Linked DNA regions of Homo sapiens: region 2 is linked to region 1. Evidence: promoter capture Hi-C in 16 types of primary human blood cells and fetal thymus (Javierre and others, 2016). All regions are on one chromosome and are shown on one strand. The core of a region is centred on a gene start or on the middle of the fragment in contact, and the rest is flanking DNA. Distances in the headings are between cores, read along the strand shown.

What was found. Contacts are between HindIII fragments. The CHiCAGO score rates a contact against its expected background, and 5 or more counts as called.
Region 2: a fragment that was not itself captured here is called in contact with the fragment with the promoter of RNF220 in region 1 in 3 of 17 cell types (megakaryocytes, monocytes and endothelial precursors); the score reaches 10.8 in megakaryocytes.

Annotation. Positions count from the first base shown.
Region 1 is chr1:44,401,866-44,407,817 of GRCh38, reverse strand. It overlaps RNF220 (ring finger protein 220), which reads right to left and starts at 2,563. Exons shown (of 15, transcript NM_018150.4): 1 at 2,288-2,563. RefSeq lists an enhancer at 1,148-1,670. The HindIII fragment of the contact is 8,690 bases long and covers 1-2,917 here.
Region 2 is chr1:44,478,715-44,484,270 of GRCh38, reverse strand. All of the region lies in intron 2 of RNF220 (ring finger protein 220), which reads right to left. Among named protein-coding and RNA genes, the nearest start is that of MIR5584, 64 kb to the left of the region's middle. RefSeq lists an enhancer at 1-759. The HindIII fragment of the contact is 2,558 bases long and covers 2,153-4,710 here.

The DNA.
Region 1 (5,952 bases), core at 1,314-3,813:
CCACCGCTTCAGCGGGCAGCCGCGGACTCCTCCACTCCCGCTTCTCCTGCAAATACGGACCGGCGCGGGGCTGCCGGGCCCTTCCAGCTCCTGGACTGCGGATGCGCAGTGCGGGAGGGAGGGTTCTGCGGCCCGCACCGCGGCCGTCCGGCCGCCGCACACCGCGCGGCTCGCAGAACAGGTGTGTGTCCCCGCTCGCTCCGCGCCCGGCCCCGGCCCTGTCGGCCACCAGCGGCGCGACGCGGCGCCGCCCCGTCCTCGGCCTTCCCCAGCCTTGCCTCGAAGCGCAGCAAGCGAACTCACGCCACTTTTGCCGGGTCTCTGCGGGCCAGGAGGGATCGGCACGGAAGACGCCAGCACCGCTCTTCCTCGACGCTCTTTCTGCCTTTCCCCCCTCTGCTCATTCCCCTTTGCAGGAAGAGCCCGCGAGACGGAAAGAGGAGGCCAGGCAAGGCAAAGCCCCCCTGCCCACTCTGCTCCCCCCAGTCCCCTCGCTGCTTCCTCACTGCCGCCCTTTTTTTTCTTTATTTTTCCTTTCTCTCCCCTTTGCCCCTCAAGCCGAGTCCGGAGCGGAGGCGAGAGGCAAGATGTGGCTGCTGGGCGTCGTGGGCAGCGAGTGCGGTGCTCTCCCCCTCGGCGGCTCCCGGGCCAGTGGGCCGGCGCAGACCCCAGACGACCCGGGCCGGCCAGGTAGGGCTGTGCCCCCACACCTATGGCCCGGGCCCCATGCACCCACCCAGTGCGACGCGCGCCTGGCTCAGGGCCGGAACACGGGCTCTCCGCTGGAGCTGCATCCACGACCCGAGAATGCAGGGTGTGCTTAACGGGAAGCGAGAGCTTTCCCCCTGCCTCCTGGCTGCCCTAGTCCCCGCTACTTCGGGACTCCTGCGCGCCCTCGCCAGCTGGGGTCGACCTGGGCCGCGAGCTCTCGGAGAGGCTCCTGGACTGGGGGATGAACCGGGCATCCCCTCGGATGGCCTCACCACCGTGGGCGGCCTCGCCCGGGGGGCCACACGGAAGCTCTCCGCCCAAGTTTGTTGTGCCCTGGAAGAAAAGGCTTTCTCTTACAAAGCACAAAGGCGAAACGCCCAGGCCGAGCCCTGAAAAGCCCCGGGTTGGGGGGCGGGGGTGGGGTGGGGGAGGCCGGAGGCTCCGGAGTGCGGTGGCGGGGCTGGGTTCCGGGCAGAGAAGGTCGCTCGGCCCGGGCTGACAAGCGCGGCGGCAGTGGCCGCAGGACCGCAGCGACCGGCGTGCTCACTGAAAAGTTTTGTTCTTAAGTCAGAAGAGAAATTGTTACTCAGTTTAAGGCAGGTCTAAGATAAAAATAAAACTACAAGTAGAGTAGTCAAGTAGCCCTCGTCTCCACGATCGTCCTCCCGCCTTGCTCAGTAGAACCGCTGGGAGAGGGGGTCCCGACCCCGAAAATCCCGGGAGATCCCACGTGTCGGGCTACTCTACGGCCAGGCCGGTCCAGCCCAGAGGAGTGGGGAGTTTACCGGTGGCGTTTAGAACGGTCCGCCTCTATGCTAGCACCTGCCTCCTTCCTGCCCGCAGAGGATCCATCCATCCTACCCCACCTCCCTCCCTCCACACCCTTCACACCCGCCCCCGCTAGGAAAAAGTCAGCCGAGCACCCGGGGTCCAGGGCTAAACAGCCACTCCCCGGGTATCCCGCGGAGCCGGCTGTGTGTGGGGTGGAGGCTGTCGGGGTAGTTTCTCATTCGGCTCGCCCCTTCTCCATCCGCCCGCCGCCTCGGGCTCCCCACTGAGTACCACCCAGCCCTGGCCTCGCCGGAAATCAACGCGGGGTACATAGGGGAGCCCGGAAATCACCGGGGGGTGCACCAGAGAGCCCGGCGAGAAGGCATTCTCGATATCGACCCGAACAAAGTGGGAATGGGGCTTATTAAGAGACGGAGAAAAGAAGTCCTGCTCCCTTCCCTTGCAGTGCCCTCACCCTCCCAACTTGTCCAATTCCCGCGTCTGGTCCCTCCCCCTTGCACCTCCCCCCCTCCCCAAATAAAACACATTAAGGAAAACTCAAGACGGAAAGTTTGAGCGAGGCAGCGCACGGAGCGCGCAGGGCGCCGATGCCGAGAGGCTCCGTCGCGATGATCCAAGACGCGCCAGTCCGAGTCCCAGTCCCTGCCCCCGTCCAGAGGGAACCGCCCGAATCCCTAGGAAACGGACCCGGAAAGTTAGCCAGGTTCCTGAACAAGCCGGCCGCCCTCGCACCCACCCCTCTTGGGTACGCACACACGTCCACACCCCTTTCTGATCTCCATACTTGCCGTGGAAATTCCTTGGGAGAACGGTCGCACTTTTCAGGACACGGAGGGAAGCAGGCGGAGAGTGTGGTGCATGAAAAGTCCCGGGTTCGCAGAGCCGGCGGAGGCAGCGGCGGCGGCGGCGGCGGCAGCGGCAGCAGCAGCAGCAGCAGTAGGCGGCTGGCCCCGGGTTTGTGTTCGCGAGCTGCCTGGGATTGCATGTACAGATCAAGAGACTCAGTTGGCGTGAGAGAAGGAGCAGTGCTGCCTCTCAGCGCTGGATCTAATCAGTGAATGAGCCTCCACTCTCCCAGGGACTCGGAGACACACACACGCGCGCACACACACACGCACGCACACATTCTCTCACACTCACACACATACAGGCACTCTGAGCACTGAATACATTAGGGCACTAAGGGACTCTGGGAAATGAAGTCCAGACCCAGGGCACTCCTGGAGAACAGACCTGCTGGCCCTCACCAAAGAGCTTGGAAGTCTTGGGGTCGCGAGCCATTGTGAACTAAAGAGAGCGTTGGCTTTTGTTTACATCCCTCCTCCCCCACCCGCAAAGGTCTCAGTGAATGGTTTCGTGCTTGTTGTTCTTCCTTTCCTGAACCAAAAGGGACCAAGAGTAAATGGGCAAAGCTTGAAGACTGACATCCACTGCTGCTTAAATGACCCCCAAATCCTGGGTCCCTCAAAATCTCTGTCTTTTCCCAGAAAAATCTTACCTGCTGCTTTGTTCCTGGAATGCTTCTCTGGGTCTTTGACTATAATAATAAATAATAAATGAATATTAATAAAACTGTAACTTTTGGAGGAGGTGAAGGCCTAGTATAGCATCCAGATGTGAGAATAAAATTTTTTATTGGTGTTTTATTGATGTTTATATTACAGTTCATTTCAGATCATTTCATATCATCCTATAATTCATCAAACACAAAGATAAACAGGGGAAATGGATAGAGAACTAACATTCCTGAGTGCTTTCTAGGAGCCCGGTTATGAGACTAAATGCCTTTACATAATTTCATTTACTCCTAAGATTAATTCTGGAGATAATAATATTACCACTAGTTTATAGAAGAGGAAACTGGGGTTGAAAGGGTTTTGTAATTTGCCCATGAAAACGTGGTTAACAAGTCTTGGATAGCAGGTAGTTCTAGTTCTGAAAGCAAAGTTCAACCAAAATCAAATCCTGGTTTAAGAAGTCATTCCTGGCCGGGCGCGGTGGCTCACGCCTGCAATGCCAACACTTTGGGAGGCCGAGGCGGGCGGAACAAGAGGTCAGGAGTTCAAGACCAGCCTGACAAACATGGTGAAACCCTGTCTCTACTAAAAATACAAAAAGTAGCCGGGCGTGGTGGCATGCGCCTGTAATCCCAGCTACTCAGGAGGCCAAGGCAGGAGAATCGCTTGAACCCGGGAGGCGGAAGTTGCAGTGAGCCGAGATCACACCATTGCACTCCAGCCTGGGTGACAAAAAAAAAAAAAAAAAAAAAAGTCATTCTTTTGTTTTGTAGTTAAGTGTCTAAAACCTCAGATTTCTCATCTGGAAAAAAAAAAGGGAGGGTGGGGAGAAATGGAGTACACACTGATAATCCACTTTACAGAGAACCACATAGGATTATAAATTGTCTAAAAAGAATGAGACTCAAAATCTCATTCTTGCTATTATTTCATTGTCCTTTTTACTTATGTTTAACATTAAGGTAGCATCTAAATATTAAGTATGTTTATGTATATGTGTGCTGTTGGTATTTTAAAATTTTAATTGGCAACTCTAAATAAATTGTTAATTTGATCACTTAGAGTTCTACATTTACAACTATTTCTATAATTCGTGATATCAGGATTATTTGTTGAGGAACTTTATTTTTATTTATTTATTTTTTTTGACATGGAATCTCACTCTCTCGCCCAGGCTGGAGTGCAGTGGTGTGATCTTGGCTTACTGCAACCTCCGCCCCGAGTTCAAGCGATTCTCCTACCTCAGCCTCCCAAGTAGCTGGGATTACAGGCATGCCCCTCCATGCCCAAATAATTTTTAGTAGAAATACGGTTTCACCATGTTGGCCAGGCTGGTCTCAAACTCCTGACCCCAAGTGATCCGCTTGTCTCGGTCTCCCAAAGTGCTGGGATTACAGGGGTGAGCCACCACGCCTGGCCTGTTGAGGAACTTCTAATCCATGTTTAATCATTCATTCATACACCAGCATTTATTATGTTAGGCTCTATTCTTTCCACTAAATTATTATTTCCTGCTGGATTGTAAACTTCATGAAGTCAAGAACCATGTTTGTTGCATTCTACATCATACCCTAAGCACCTTACAGCATCAGTCTCTTAGTTGAATGAATAAACGAGGATATAAAAATGAACTCCTGTCCTCAAAGAGCTCACCATCTAGTAGAGGAGACAAAGAAAGAGTTAGAAATCAATTTGATAACCACTGTAATAAGGATGACCTTAGAATTTATTGATCTAACTGAGACAAGTTTGATGATAAAAAAGGGACACTTTTAATAATTACACTGGGATGACAAATGTCAACAAGGGCCATCCTGGGCCAAGCAGATTGAATGGTCACCCTAGCTACATAAGGTATTTCATTCATTCATTTAACAAGCATTTATCGAGAACTCTCTTGCCTGGTGTGTTAAAGGAATTATAAGCCACTGATTTCCCTCAAAATTGAAATATGAAACATTGAGCAGCAAGAGATAGGCAGGAGAAGTGGGCCAAATCACAAAAGGCTTTGTATACTAAGCTAAGGAAAGTGGATGTTATCCTACAGATGATGAGAAACCCCTAGAGGGTTTTAGGGGTGTGACAGGGTAGGATTTCTGTTTTAAAACAAGCACTAGTTCCTGGGTGGACAAGGTGGAGGTTAGACAAGAGGCAGGGAGGCCAATCAAAAAGTCTATCTCAAGTAATTCAGTTGAGATGAAGTAGGGCCTGAACCAAGGTACTGGGGCAGAGTGAGTGGAGAGGAGGGGACACATTACAGTGAGATCTAAAAGGTAGAATCAACAGGATTTAGCCATTTTAGTATGGTGGATGAAGGCAGAAGGAAGACTCTATATAAATCCTAAATAAGATTTTATTATTTATAGCAAAAGATGTTGTCAGTACTTTAATGTTTATCAGTAGTAAAAGGCTCCCTCAGACTAACTTAGAGAGTTCCCGTAGATCCAGTGCACATTCTCACAGATAGATGATACAGATAAGAAGGCCTGTTCAATCATCAAGCCAAATATTTTTAGCTGTTACCACATGCAGTGGTCCTCACTACGATGCAAGTACTCAGAAACTAGAATTAATCACTGTCTATAACAGCAATCTAAACGAATAAATTAAATGCAAATCCCTCATAAAATCAGAGCAAAATTATGTAATGCAAAATTGAATATGTAATACCTCACTAATTCACAGGTCATATGTCCAGCAACCTCAGCTATCCAAAACACAATGAAGCAGGAAATAAGCAAAAAGGGTCCCAGAATAGCCAAAATAAACATTACAAAGTCCATGCACTAAAGTTAACACATTTCCCTCCTAGGAGAATTACACAAGCCTTCATTCAGAGCCGATTTATTCTTTCTTAGGTACAATTCTAATAAGCTTGATTATTTGGCTTTCCCATTCACAGCTGATTAAGATTGTCAAATTAAAAGGGGGC
Region 2 (5,556 bases), core at 2,182-4,681, 76 kb before region 1:
CCTTCATGCTCTTTTTTTTCTTCTATGCCAGTTACAGCATCCAGCAGGGGGATCCTGAACCCTAGGGGACGGCTCAACCTGAATTCCAAAGGCACCGCTATGTGACTGCCTTCTAAAAAGGATTTGTTGGATGTAGTCATTAGCCTACCCTAATAAACCCTGAAAATGAGATGCCTCGACCCCACCTCAGGAGGCTCTACAGCTTGTGAAGAACAAGGAAGGAAGGAGAACCAGCCCAAGGCTGGGAAACAGTTATTCCCAGATTTTGGAGACATTTCACTGCTTGCCTAGGAAAAGCAAGGGTAAGGGGCTTAGGAGGGCCAAGGCTAGCAGTGAGCCCAGACTCCTGGAAAGGGGGCTCACAGCTTCAGGGGTTTCTCACACACCAGACAAGCTGCATTCTGATACGTTTTGGAAGGCTCAAGGCAGAAAAAATCCTAAGAGGGAAGGCTATGAACATCTGATTTAAACAAAATAATGAAATATGCAAAAGCAAACTATAAATCATAATCTCAAATCAGATCAAGTTGCACCACTGCTTATACTCTTTGGCCCTCTCTGATCTGACCCCTTATCTAGCCTGCCACCGCTATGTTCTCATAGCTCCTCAGACATATCTTCATTGAACACCTCTTCAGAGTAACCTGCTAGCCCACTAGCTCAGGAGTTCTTCAAGGTCTGGAGAAGAGCCTCATTTACCTCCATACCCCTTTAGCTAGCTCTGGGCCTGGAACCTGGTACTAGCTCAGTATCTGCTAAATGAATGAGCACAAAGCACTGTACATGTTAGTATGATGAGTATATTTTCTGATATGGGCATGGCACTTCTCCCTTTCCTGACTCCATTGTTGAGATGCTTTCTAAAATAGTGCTGTGAGCCTGGACATAGTTCTTCCACACATTTTCATTTGGTTTCCCTTCTGATCTAGAACAGTATTTAAAAGCTGGGCTTCTGACATTGAGCAAGGTAGAACAGGTCTAACCGGCTGCAAAGGGATGGAACTCATCCTTTTAAAAGGTGTGTATTAATACTATGCTTGGGCTGGGCATGGTAGTTCATGCCTGCAATCCTGGCGCTTTGGGAGGCTAAGTCGGGAGGATGGCTTGAACCCAGGAGTTTGAGACCAGCCTGGGCAACAAAGCAAGACCCTGTCTCTACAAAACATAGAAAAAGTAGCCAGGCGCGATGGTGTGCACCTGTAATTCTAGCTATTCCAGAGGCTAAGGCAGGAGGACTGCCTGAATCCCGGAGTTTGAGGCTGCAGTAAGCCACGATCGTTCCACTGCGCTCCAGCCTGGGCTACAGAGCAATATCCCATCTGGACAAAAAAAAAAAAAAAAAAAAAAAAAGGCTGGGTGTGGTGGCTCACTCTTACAATCCCAGCACTTTGGAAGGCCGAGGCAGGTAGATCACTTGAGGTCAGGAGTTTGAGACCATCCTGGCCAACATAGTGAAACCCTGTCTCTATTAAAATACAAAAATTAGCCAGGCATTGTGGCACATGCCTGTAATCCCAGCTACACAGGAGGCTGAGGCACGAGAATCACTGGAATCTGAGAGGCAGAGGTTGCAGTGAGCTGAGATTGTGCCACGGCACTCCAGACTGGGTGACAGAGCAAGACTCTGTCTAAAAAAAAAAAAATTTACTGAATTACCCTAGACTATGCCAAGGATAAATGTGAAGAATCCTATTTCAGATCCCCTAGAACTCAAATGCCTCATGACAACCAGAGCATAGCTCCTTTCTTCCTACAGAAAGATTTCTAGCTCCACTGAAGCTATTCATTGCTCACTGAGAGAAGGAACACAAAAATTCTTTGAAAAATATGCAGTATCTAAAAGGTGAACGGACTGGAGTTAGTATCAGTCTTCTCTCCCCACTTCCTTCAAATGTCTTCACCACAGCAACTGCCCTCCACCCCTCCTGCTCCCCTGAGAAGGGAGCCCCAGGGATCCAGACTAGACCAGGTCTGGTCTGCAGGCCGTGTATTCTTAGTTTTGTCTCATTTTTTGAACATTATTTCTCTATGGAAAAATGAATCTGTTTGGAATAGAAATCAAATATGGGTTCATGGTCAGATGGATGGGGTTTGAATCCCAGTTCTGCTACTTGTAAGTTGAGAAACTTTAGGAAAATTAACCTTTTAAGCTTCTGTTTTCTTGTCTGTAAAATGGGAATGAAATAAAACCAAAATCAAGGGGCCCAAGTACTGCATGCAGAACTTCTGGTGCAATGCCTGACACAGAGCAGGCACCCAGGAAAAGCGGGTGCTCATTGTTTTGGCTTCTTATCTCTGAATTAACTTCATCTGCTCCTTGTTCTCTCCTGTTACAACTGAGAGAATGACCCTCTTACGACTGAAGTCTAATCCCTCACAAGTGGTCTGGATTCCATCCCTTCTTGTCTTTTAAACTGCTTCATCATCTCTGTTTCTTGACTGTCAGTCTTTTTCTTTGCCTGGATCACTTCCACCAGCACACACACACATGCACTGCTATCTTCTCTCAAGAACAAAAAAGTTCTCTCTCTTGATTCCACATCCTCTCCACTTGCCATCATATTTTTCTGCTCTTCTTTTTTTCCCCCTTTATTTCTTCTAAAGAAAAACAAACCAAAGAAAAGGGATACATGTACAGAACGTGCAGGTTTGTTCCATAGGTGTATGTGTGCCATGGTGGTTTCTGCTCCTATTGACCCATCCTCTAAGTACCCCCCGCTCAACCTCCAGCTCCCAACAGGCCCTGTGTGCGTGTTGTTCCCTTCTCTGGGTCTATGTGTTCTCATTGTTCAACTCTCAGTTATGAGTAAGAACATGCGGTGTTTGGTTTTCTGTTCTTGTGTTAGTTTGCTGAGGATGATGGCCAACCCAGGATGGAGTGCAGCAGGGCGATCACAGCTCACTGCAGCCTCGAATTCCTGAGCTCAAGTGATTCCCCCTGCCTCAGCCTCCCAAGTAGCTGGGACTACAGGTGCACGTCATCAAACCCAGCTAATTTTTAAAATTCTTTTGCAGAGATGGAGTCTCACTATGTTTCCCAACCTGGTCTTGAACTCCCGGGCTCATGCAATCCTCCCACCTCAGCCTCTCAACGTGCTGGGATTACAGGCGTATGCCACCACGCTCAGTCTTCTGCTCTTCTTTATCCCCAGACACCTCCAAGGTGTTGTCTACATCTGCTGCATACATTTTCTCACCCCCTATTAGCTCTTCAATTCATGTCAACTTGAATTTGCCCTGTCATTCCACTAAACTGTTCTCAAAGTGACCTATTGCCCTCCATATTGCCAAATCCTGAAGACATGTACATCTCTGTCCTTGATCTCCCAGGAGCATTTGACGTAACTCATCATTTTCTATTTTATTTTATTTTACTTTATTTTTTGAGACGGAGTCTCACTCTGTTGCCCAGGCTGGAGTGCAGTGTTACAATCTCAGCTCACTGCAACCTCTGCCTCCCACGTTCCAGCAATTTTTCTGCTTTAGCCTCCCAAGTAGCTGGGACTGCAGGCGTGCCCCACCATGCCCAGCTAATTTTTGTATTTTTAATAGAGACAGGGTTTCACCATGTTGGCCAGGCTGGTCTTGAACTCCTGACCTCAAGTGATCCCAAAGTGTTGGGATTACAGGCGTGAGCCACTGCCCCCGGCCCATTTTCTCTTTTAAAACACTCCTTTTTCCTCCTTGGTTTTATGATCTCTATTGTCCATTCCTTCTCAGACTCCTTTCTTCTTTTCCTCTACCACATCTTTAAATGTTAGAGTTATCCAGGGCTTGGGTCTGTGCCCTTTTATTTTCTCTCTTTTACACCATTCATTTTCATTTCATCTTTTGCAATCACTTAATTAATTAATTAATTAATTTTTGAGACAGAGTCACTTTGTTGCCCAGGCTGGAGTGTAGTGGCACGATCAGGGCTCACCACAGCCTTTACGTCCCAGGCTCAAGCGTTCCTTCCACCTCAGCCCCCTGAGTAGCTGGGACTACAGGCATGCACCATCACACCTGGCTGATTTTTTTTGTATTATTAGTAGAAATGGCATATCACCATGTTGGCCAGGCTGGTCTCAAACTCCTGGACTCAAGTGATCCACTTGCCTTGGCCTCCCAAAGTGCTGGGAGTAGATGTGAGCCACTGTGCCCTGCCTTTGCAGTCATTTTAAATAGCAAGGTGCTGTTATAACTAGAACAACAAAACACAAAGATATGTGACATTGGCTTTGGGACTAGGCAAGTGGGCAGCAAGGAAGCTGGTATAAAAGCCGGGAATAATAGCAACTTGTATTATTTAGTGGTAAACTTGTGACTAAACTACAATAATTTGGAAGGCAGGAAACGTATCTTATAAACTAGCAAAGGTGAAGGAGGGGATCTTAAGGCAAAACATTGCAAGCATGAGCTGGCTGCTTTTAGCTGTATTTGATGAAGCACTAACAAGAAAGTGATAAACTCAGAAAACTGGCTAGTTTGCAAGCAGGATTCAGTGGGAATATAGAGAACCCAGAATTTGTGGGGTTGAAAAATAAAACTTTCTCATCTCCAATCTCTCTAGTAAGAGATTTTCAAATTAAGATCCATCCTGGGGCTAAAGACCTAATCCAGAGTGCGGCAAGAACGATACTGTTTCCAGGTGAAGTCAAAATCAAGAGTATTAAGCTCTGAAGGAAATCAGATGGCATCTAATAGGCTCTTGCAGCTGAAAATGAAGCTTGTAGAAAACTTAAGAGCAAGGTTCTACAGCAGCCTGACATTCCCAGTACTTAAGTCTCGGTAGATTCTGTCTTGTAAAAATTGTGGGTGTGGCTTGTGGTACATAGAGTTGATGAGTATAAAACACATAAAAATCCACAAAGTTGGCCGAGCGCGGTGGCTCACACCTGTAATCCCAGCACTTTGGGAGGCTGAGGTGGGCGGATCACGAGGTCAGGAGATCGAGACCATCCTGGCTAGCACGGTGAAACCCTGTCTCTACTAAAAATATAAAAAATTAGTTGGGCACTGGTGGCAGGCGCCTGTAGTCCCAGCTACTCGGGAGGCTGAGGCAGGAGAATGGCGTGAACCCGGGAGGCGGAGGTTGCAGTGAGCCGAGAATGCGCCACTGCACCCCAGCCTGGGCGACTGAGTGAGACTCTGTCTAAAAAAAAAAAAAAAAATCCACAAAGTTTGTGAGAGAGCTGTATTGGTGAAAGACTGCCTGCTCCAACGGAAAGAAACAGAGACTATTGAAGATGTAAAAAGATTTCTGGGGCCCCAAATTTCTACAAGTAGGCAGTAGGCTGAAAAAAGCTGCTCACCCACAAAAATTATTTAATATCTTTTTCAGAAGTGTCCATGGGTGATGTCCAAGGATGATAGAAAAGGAAGGTCTTCCAGAGGAGTGCACCAACAGCCACGGGGAACAATGGATGGGAGATCCAGAATCAGAGCCTAATCAGAGAGCATTCTCAACCCCTAGGACCGTGGGACCTGTCAACATTTGCCCAGTAGAATTTCAGAACTGCTATGGACTGGCGATTTCTGATTTCATTTCTCTCTCTCTCTTTTTTTTAGAGACAG